2 separate regions of the Homo sapiens genome follow, and region 2 is linked to region 1. Evidence: promoter capture Hi-C in human tissues and cell types (Jung and others, 2019). All regions are on one chromosome and are shown on one strand. Each heading gives the region's core, a stretch centred on a gene start or on the middle of the fragment in contact. The rest is flanking DNA. Distances are from core to core; before and after follow the strand shown.

Region 1 (4,345 bases), core at 1,280-3,779:
TTCCTTCAAACTAGTATATCAAAATCACCTTTGGAGCTTTCTGAAAATGGGGATATCTGGCCTTCATCTTGTGAGATTCTGATTCAATGGAAATGGATAGGATTAAAAAATTCCACCAATTTTATAAAAAGTGTCCAGGTTGATTATAGAACACAGTAATGTATAGAAACTATTGCTTACAATAACATTAGTGAAAAAATGATATCAAATAGAAAAATGTCAAAGATTTTAAATGCTGGACTACTTTTACAGTAAAGCTATGGAATGTTTTTGGGGAAAGTTAAAAAGATCAGTACCAAGATTCATCTCTTTGGGGTTGTCTAACATCAGGGGCAAGACTTTTCCAGGATCCTGTGTCATGTTTTGTGATTGCTGGTTCTCTGATCACCTGGGGGAAAAATATTGCAGAAAGTATAGCTGCTTCATCATTCATGAAAGCAACTGAGTCTGCAAGTGAACTGAAAAATTTGCCCTCCAAGTAGTTCCTGAGATGTTTGTAAAGAGAGTTTGAAGATACTAAATTCTATTTCCTTTTTGTCTTTCAACATAAAACTGATTAGACGTTCATGTTTTTAAAATTGTTTCAATATGTAATGCCATCGCTTTCAAGAATGTAGTAAACTCTTTAAATTTGCAAATATAAATGAAAATTGTAATTTTTGGATCAAACAATATACATAATTATGATGGGATTACAAAAGTTATAAGCTTAAGGCAAGATTGACTTGTTACTGAGCTAATTAATTTCTGAGTCTGGCTTCTTTCCTTTTTTTTTTTTTTTTTTTAACTAGAACGAAGACAGGAGTGAGATTCAGAGGCAGGGTTTTATCTACAGTGGGACACTCAGGACTCTACCTGTGGAGGGATAAAGTGCTAGGCATGCTAATAAAAGCAAGAAATATATAAATCTTTTAAAAATACATTAGATGCTACATAAGATTTTTTCCGAATTTTGTCTAATTAGCATGGACTTTTTATATGAAAAATATTTAAAATAGTGACATAACAGTTTTAAGCTGAGATAAAGTTAATATGATCTCTCTCTGGTTTGGGCTTATGTAACCCATAAGCCATAAGGTTATGGCTTTTGACCTGTGGGCCATTTTAAAGGGACAATGAGCCTTGCTTCAGCTGCCTCAAGAAGCTTTTACTCACTGTGAACACAGGAAAAGGAAGGAGCTGTGAAAATACTGCCTTAATATTTCCCAGGATGTTTATTTGATTAGTAACAGAAATTCTAAAAGGCTATGTGTACCCTCTCTGTATTATACTATATTATAAGACCAACACTAAAGGTGGATGTGAGGAAGTCGTAATACTGATTGAACGAGTTCTTTAAAATCAGCAATAGCAACTCATTCATCATTCATCTCCAACCATAGCACATTGTCTATTTGACTCAATAAATACATGATAACTGTTTTTTAATTTTAATTTACCCTTGGCAACTCAACTGGGAGCTCTGAATTAAGTATTGCCCATCAGTTTCCCATGTCAGGTCAAAATGTCCAGCAATCTATACACTTTCCTTGCTCTTAAAACTTTCCTTGAACTTAAAACTATTGAAGTTTGGCCTTGGAATAAAATCATCAGTCTCTGAGGAAAAAACTTATATAATCGACTTCTGTCAATGATCACTAATGCCACAAATCTAGATCTCTCATTTGGAGTCTCAAATGGCAGATGAATTTGATTAGCTCCTATGACTATAAGCTAAGCTAATTATTACAAGTGGATGTGGAGAAAACAGTCCTATGGTGGCCTGTGCTATCTGATCTTGAACTTTTCCATTTCTTCCTTTACTGTTTCTATTCTACTTCATCGAGACAACAACTGCATGAAGAATGTTTAAAATGGAAATTTCCTTTAATTGATATTCAAGATCTCCTTTAGATTAGAACTTTATTATCTAGAGAGAACATGTAGCCAATATTAATGATGATCTTGTTCCATTGATATGTATCCACAGATTAAAGACGGCTGCTCTTCCTTCTTCTGTTGAGGAAGTGCTTCCTGTCACTCATTTTCTCCATAACCTGAGATAAATCTTCACTGGTTTAATGACAATAAGCATCCTCATCTTACCGTGACATGTACAGGAAAAAAAAGAAACCTAAAATCTTTTACATAAAAGAAGTTTCATAATCACAAGCTATCACAAAGGGGAAAATGTATACTTACCATTGATAGTTTTACCATAAATTTCCTGACCTTAATTTGATTAAAATCTCAACTTAAAGACTGCAACAATACAGATTTCTTTAAAGTTTAATTGCTCATTTCACTGAACATTGAGTGCAGGAAAAACCTCAACCTGGGGCAAAAACGTGGTAGAGCGGAAGGAGAAGTTAAGGACTGAGCTGCTTTGCAGATCACAGTGTTTGAAAGTGAACAGCCAACCTGACAAGAAGCAAAAACCACAGAACAGAGTACCACATCGTCTTTCTGTTCACTTTTTTTCACAAAATCATCCAGGCTCTTCCTACTCTCCTCTCTTACCACCTCTCTCTTCTTTTTTTTTTTTTTTTAGTTATTTCACAGATGCCACTGGGGTAGGTAAACTGACCCAACTCTGCAGCACTCAGAAGACGAAGCAAAGCCTTCTACTTGAGCAGTTTTTCCATCACTGATATGTGCAGGAAATGAAGACATTGCCTGCCATGCTTGGAACTGGGAAATTATTTTGGGTCTTCTTCTTAATCCCATATCTGGACATCTGGAACATCCATGGTAAGGCACCTGCTTAGGTTATTTCTGGTTTTATTTCTCAGGGGGTCTTGGAGGCAACATTCTCCCTTGCTGAACTTAGTACGGTGTAACGTTTATACGAAGTGGGTAATCGTAGATGAAACCAAGCTGTTACATTTGCTTACCGAAGACATCGTAGAGCATAAACCAAATTAGAACATAGTATTCACCTGCCTAATCATAGGCATCGCATCAATAGCTTGGCTGACTTTCTTAAAAACATGTTGATGGTAGGAAAAGAGAACTGAGTAGATGTTATAAATAGTTAAGTACAAATCTATCACTACTTCTTGCAAAAATGCTCTGGCTGCCATACTGATAATGAATAGATAGCTCGTTCTTTCCAAACTGAGTGCAGTAGAGTGCTGCAGTGCTCAGTTGGGTAGGACAGTTGTTGGATAATCGGAATTATACATATCTCCATGGTTACCCTCAAATAATATTACCTCTAAATAAAATCTCTATACTTGCTTCATTGGGATGTATGCCTTGAGAATACCGATTGAGAAAATGCTACAAAATATAGGAGCAGAACTTTTCGTCATTGCTTCTATTTTGTTGAAAGGGAATGGTTCCTACTTGGTTGTCAATTGAACACAGAAAATAAGTTGGATTCTGCAAAGATGATATTTAGCCACCCCTGCAAAGACTTTATACAGGCAAAAAAAAAAAAAAAAAAAAAAAGGCAATTTCTTTTTTATTGTAAAGTCGCTTCCTACCTTATATTGCATAGGAACCCACATATTATCAAGAGGAAAAGCCTATGAGTGGCTCATCAGAAGCTTCTGATTTTTCAGGTTTTATTTTTTTATTTTTTTGAGACAAGAGTTTTGCTCTCGTCACCCAGGCTGGAGTGCAATGGCGTGATCCCGCCTCACTGCATCCTCTGCCTCCCGGGTTCAATCGATTCTTCTTCCTCCCGGGTTCAATTTATTCTCCTGCCTCAGCGTCCCTAGTAGCTGGGATTACAGGCACCTTCCACCACGCACAGCTAATTTTTGTATTTTTAGTAGAGATGTTGGATAACCCCAATTATCCAACATCTGTCCTACCCAACTGAGCACTGCAACACTCTACTGCACTCAGTTTGGGAAGAACGAGCTATCTATTCATCATCAGTGTGGCAGCCTGAGCATTTTCGCAAGAAGTAGTGATAGATTTGTACTTAACTATTTATAACATCTACTCAGTTCTCTTTTCTTGCCATCAACCTGTTTTTTAAGAAAGTCAGCCAAGCTATGGATGCAATGCATGTTGGGCAGGCTGGTCTGGAGCTCCTGACCTCAAGTGATCCACCTGCCTCAGCCTCCCAAAGTGCTAGGATTACAGGTATGAGCCACCATGCCCAGTGATTTTTCAGGTTTTAAATATTCTGTCTTATTATTCCCTACAAGCACACATTTATCAGTTTGGCTACTGCAATTTTAAATTAGAAAATCTGGCCACTGAGGTTCTATGGAAAGTCTATCTATAATTTTAAACTGTGTAGTTTGGAATATGTCTCTATGATGCCAGGATGCCACACAACCAAGTGCAAAGTAAAAAAGTCCTTAGTTACTCAAACATCTTTATGTTTGTAAGTATCTAGTATTAAGTC
Region 2 (4,345 bases), core at 1,185-3,684, 57 kb after region 1:
GTTAGAACTTGGCCGCTAGATTTGTGGGACTAGGAAGAGGGAGAAATAAAGGAGGACTCTTCAGGTTTTGAACAAGGTAAGTGATGCTAATGGACAAGGAGAATGTTGAGGATGGAAACGATTCATTTGGTTGTTTATGCTTATCTAATTTCACTTATTTTTCATTTTCTGCCTTTTGATACCTCTCATTATTTAGGGACCATTGTGTCCTAAAATAAAGTAAAATGGGTCTGAAATGTTATGGCAAATGAGACATGTATTATAATCAAAAAATCCTATAACAATAGTGTCATGGGAACCTTTATGTAGATTTTAGAATTACAAGGTTCATAGTTACTTCCAGGATTCCTGTTTTAAGCCCCGCAGCTTGCTACATCCCAGAAGGACCCCGTGAGGGTCAAATAAGATAATTATGAGAAAATCTCTTGTAAACTGCAAAATTCTATGCACATATACATGATTATAAGAAATCATTTTGGACAGATATACAATGGGAGAAACACATAATCTCTGATTATTAATGTGCCTGAAAATGAAAATGAATTTTCACTCCACTCCATTCAACATTGAATATTACGTGAAAAATAATTATAATTCTCTACTCCTTTCTCACCAAAGGGGAAGAGAAGTGATACAACTGCCCAGTGAAGTTGTGACATGGAATCAAACTTCTGGGTTTGCTCTCACTTTGGATCTGTGACAGGATCATTCTGGTCTGCTCTCCTATTCCTGGTGGTAGTGGAGCAGACCTTGCCCCCTTCTCTCTCTCTGTGTGCACATGTCTGTGAGACAATATAGGAGGATCTCAGTTTAATTCTACATAAAGTATTAGAAAATTCATTGTGGCTCTGTATTTAAGCTACATGCTCCAATCTAGCTTTTGATTGTAATAAATTAACCTTTTGATTTTTTTTTTTTTTTTTTTTTTTTTGAGACAGAGTCTCGCTCTGTCGCCCAGGCTGGAGTGCAGTGGCGCGATCTCGGCTCACTGCCAGCTCCGCCTCCCGGGTTCAGGCCATTCTCCTGCCTCAGCCTCCCAAGTAGCTGGGACTACAGGTGCCCGCCACCACGCCCGGCTAATTTTTTGTATTTTTAGTAGAGACAGGGTTTCACGGTGTTAGCCAGGATGGTCGCTATCTCCTGGCCTCGTGATCTGCCCGCCTCCGCCTCCCAAAGTGCTGGGATTACAGGCGTGAGCCACCGCGCCCGGCTGACCTTTTGATTTTTATCAGTCGAGCTATGAGTCTAATTCTAACTGCCCAACTTAAAAGGGAAAAGAAGAGGGTTATCTATCTATCCCAGACCTCAATACTATTAAAAACATCTCTATTGGCGATTCTAAAAGCCTCAGCCAATAATTTGCTTTGAGTACAATCTGCTTTATGTCTCTACAGATTAGCCTATTCTGGACATTTCATATAAATGAAATCATACAAGATATGACCTTTTAGTCTAGCTTCTTTCACTTAACATAACGTTTTCAAGGTTTATCTGTGCTGTAGCACATATCAGTCTTCTTTCCTCTTAATGAATGAATAATATTCTATTGTATGGATCTACCATATTTTGTTCATTCATTAGTAGATGGACATTTGAATTGTTTCTACTTTTTGGCTATCTGAATATTGCTGCTTACAACATATATTGTCATTAACCTTAAACTATACTTGCATTATCACATATCTATCCATCCAACAGTCAATTTATTTTACTGATATATTTCAAGGTAATTTGTAAATATCAATTTATCCATCAAAAATATTCTTCCAGTTAAATAGTTTCACGTTGTCAACATTAACTAAATGTAACACTTTTTAGAGCTTTTAAATATAAAATTGCATGCAATAAAAGGTGCATTTGTTGAGTAGAAAAATGCATATACCTGGGTAAATGAATCTCATATTGAGATATGAACCACTACTCTCACTCCATAAATTTCCTTATGTCCCCTCCCAGCCAATATTCCATATCCCCAGAGACAACTGTAGTTTTTATTTTTTTCACCATAAATATGAACTAGTACATACCTGGGTCTTTAAAAAATGAGTTTCTGTCTTGAAGCTATATAACTCATTCATTTTTAATGTTTATTTCACTGAACTTATTTCTTATCTCATACTTCATATTTAGCATGTTTTGTTTTTTCCCTTTTTTTTGCCTTTTTTCTATTCCCCTCAACTTATATACATGTTTTGTATTCTCATTCTGTCCTATAAAATTAACTTTTTGGCCTATGTAATTAAATGTATATTTTTTCTAAAAATGTCTAATTAGTAGCTACATCCTCCAATTAAACAAAACAAGAAAATTGATGCATTTAAAAATGTATATTACGTGGGTATACTGCACCCATGTAACAAGCCTGCATATGTACCAACTATATCTAAAATATAGGAAGGATAGTACCCCACATGTAGTTTTTTAACACATGCCCCCCTCCCTCTCTCTGCCCTCTAGTAGTCCATCGTGTCTATTGTTCCCATGTTCATATCCCATGTATACTCAATGTTTAGCTCCCACTTATGAACATGCAGTCTTTGGTTTTCTGCTCCTGCATTAATTTGCTTTGAATTATGACCTCCAACTCTATCTATGTTGCCGCAAAGTACATGATTTCATTCTTTTTTATGGCTGTGTTCTGTGGTGTATATGAACCACGTTTTCTTTATCCAGTCCACCATTGATGGGGACCTAGGTTGACTGCAGGTATTTGCTATTGTGAATAGCATGATGACGAACATATAAGTACCTCTGTCTTTTTGGTATAATGATACATTTTCCTTTGGGTATATACCCAGTAATGGGATTGCTGGGTATAATGGTAGCTCTGTTTTAACTTCTTTGAGAAATCTCCAAATTGCTTTCCACAGTGTCTGAACTAATTTACATTCCCACCAATAGTCTATAAGCATTCCCTTTTCTCTGCAGCCCCACCAACATCTGTTGTTTTTTGACTTTAATAAAGCCATTCTGACTGGTGTGAGATGGTATCTCATGGTTTTAATTTTCACTTCTCTAATGATTGGTGCTGATGACAGTTTTTCATGTTTGTTGGCCACTTGTATGTCTTCCTTTGAGGAGTGTCTCTTCATGTCCTTTGCCAATTTTTTAATGAGGCTTATTTTTGCTTGTTGATTTGTTTAAGCTCCTTAGAAATTCTGGATATTAGACCTTTATCAGATGCATACTTTATGAATATTTTCTCCCACTTTGTAGGTTGTCTGTTTACTCTGTTGATAGCTTCTTTTGCTCTGCAGAAACTCTTTAATTAGGTTCCACTTGTCAATTTTTGGTTTTGTTGCAAATGCTTTCGAGGACTTAGTCAAAAATTATTTGCCCAGGCTGATATTGAGAAGAGTATTTCCTAGTATTTTTTTCTAGGATTTTTATAGATTAAGGTTTTATATTTCAACACTTAATGCATCTTGAGTTAATTTTGTATATGGTGAAAGGTAAGGGTCCAGTATTATTCTTCTGCATATAGCTAGCCAGTTAACACCATTTATTGAATAGGGAATCCTTTCCCCATTGCTTGTTTTTGTCTACCTTGTTGAAGATCAGACTGTTGTAGGTGTGCAGCTTTATTTCCGAGTTTTCTATTCTGTTCCACTGGTCTACGTGTCGGTTTTTGTACCACTACCATGGTGTTTTTGGTTGCTGTACTTTTGTAGTATAATTTGATGTTGTGATGCTTTCAGCTTTGCCCTTTTTGCTTAAGATTTCTTTGGCTATTCAGGCTCTTTATTGGTTTCCTATGAATTTTATAATAGGTTTTTCTAATTCTGTGAAGAATGACACTGGTTATTTGATAGAAATAGCATTGAATCTGTAAATGGCTTTGGGCAGAATGGCCATTTTAATAATATTGATTCTTCCAATCTAAGAGCATGGAAACTTTCCCCATGTGTTTTTTTCATCTCTAATTTCTTTCAGCAGTGTTTTATAGTTCTCCTTGTAAAAAATCTTTCAACTCCTTGATTAACTATATTCCTTGGTATTTCGTTTCCTTTGTGGCTTTTGTGAATGAGATTGCATTCTCAATTTGGCTCTCAGCCTGAATATTATTGGTGTATAGAAATGCTACTGATTTTTTGTACATTGATTTTGTATCCTGAAACCTTGCTAAATTTTCAGTTCTAGGAAATTTTTGGCAGAGTCTTTAGGGTTTCCTAAGTATAGAATAATGTTATTAGTGAAGAGAGATAGATTGACTTGTTATTTTCCTATTTGGATGTCTTTTATTTCTTGTTCTTTCTTGATTGCTCTGGCTAGGACTTCCAGTACTTGTTGAATAGGAGGGCATCCTTGTCTTGCTCCAGTTTTCAAGTGGAATGCTTCCAGCTTT

What was found. Contacts are between HindIII fragments. The study calls those that stand out against the background at their distance.
Region 2: a contact is called between a fragment that was not itself captured here and the fragment with the promoter of BTLA in region 1, in 1 of the 25 tissues and cell types used here (H1 embryonic stem cells).

The regions. Positions count from the first base shown.
Region 1 is chr3:112,497,656-112,502,000 of GRCh38, reverse strand. It overlaps BTLA (B and T lymphocyte associated), which reads left to right and starts at 2,529. Exons shown (of 5, transcript NM_181780.4): 1 at 2,529-2,730. The coding sequence starts at 2,643. RefSeq lists enhancers at 2,808-2,937, 3,028-3,077, 3,946-4,065. The HindIII fragment of the contact is 5,711 bases long and covers 927-4,345 here.
Region 2 is chr3:112,440,641-112,444,985 of GRCh38, reverse strand. No RefSeq gene overlaps it. Among named protein-coding and RNA genes, the nearest start is that of BTLA, 57 kb to the left of the region's middle. The HindIII fragment of the contact is 7,891 bases long and covers 1-4,345 here.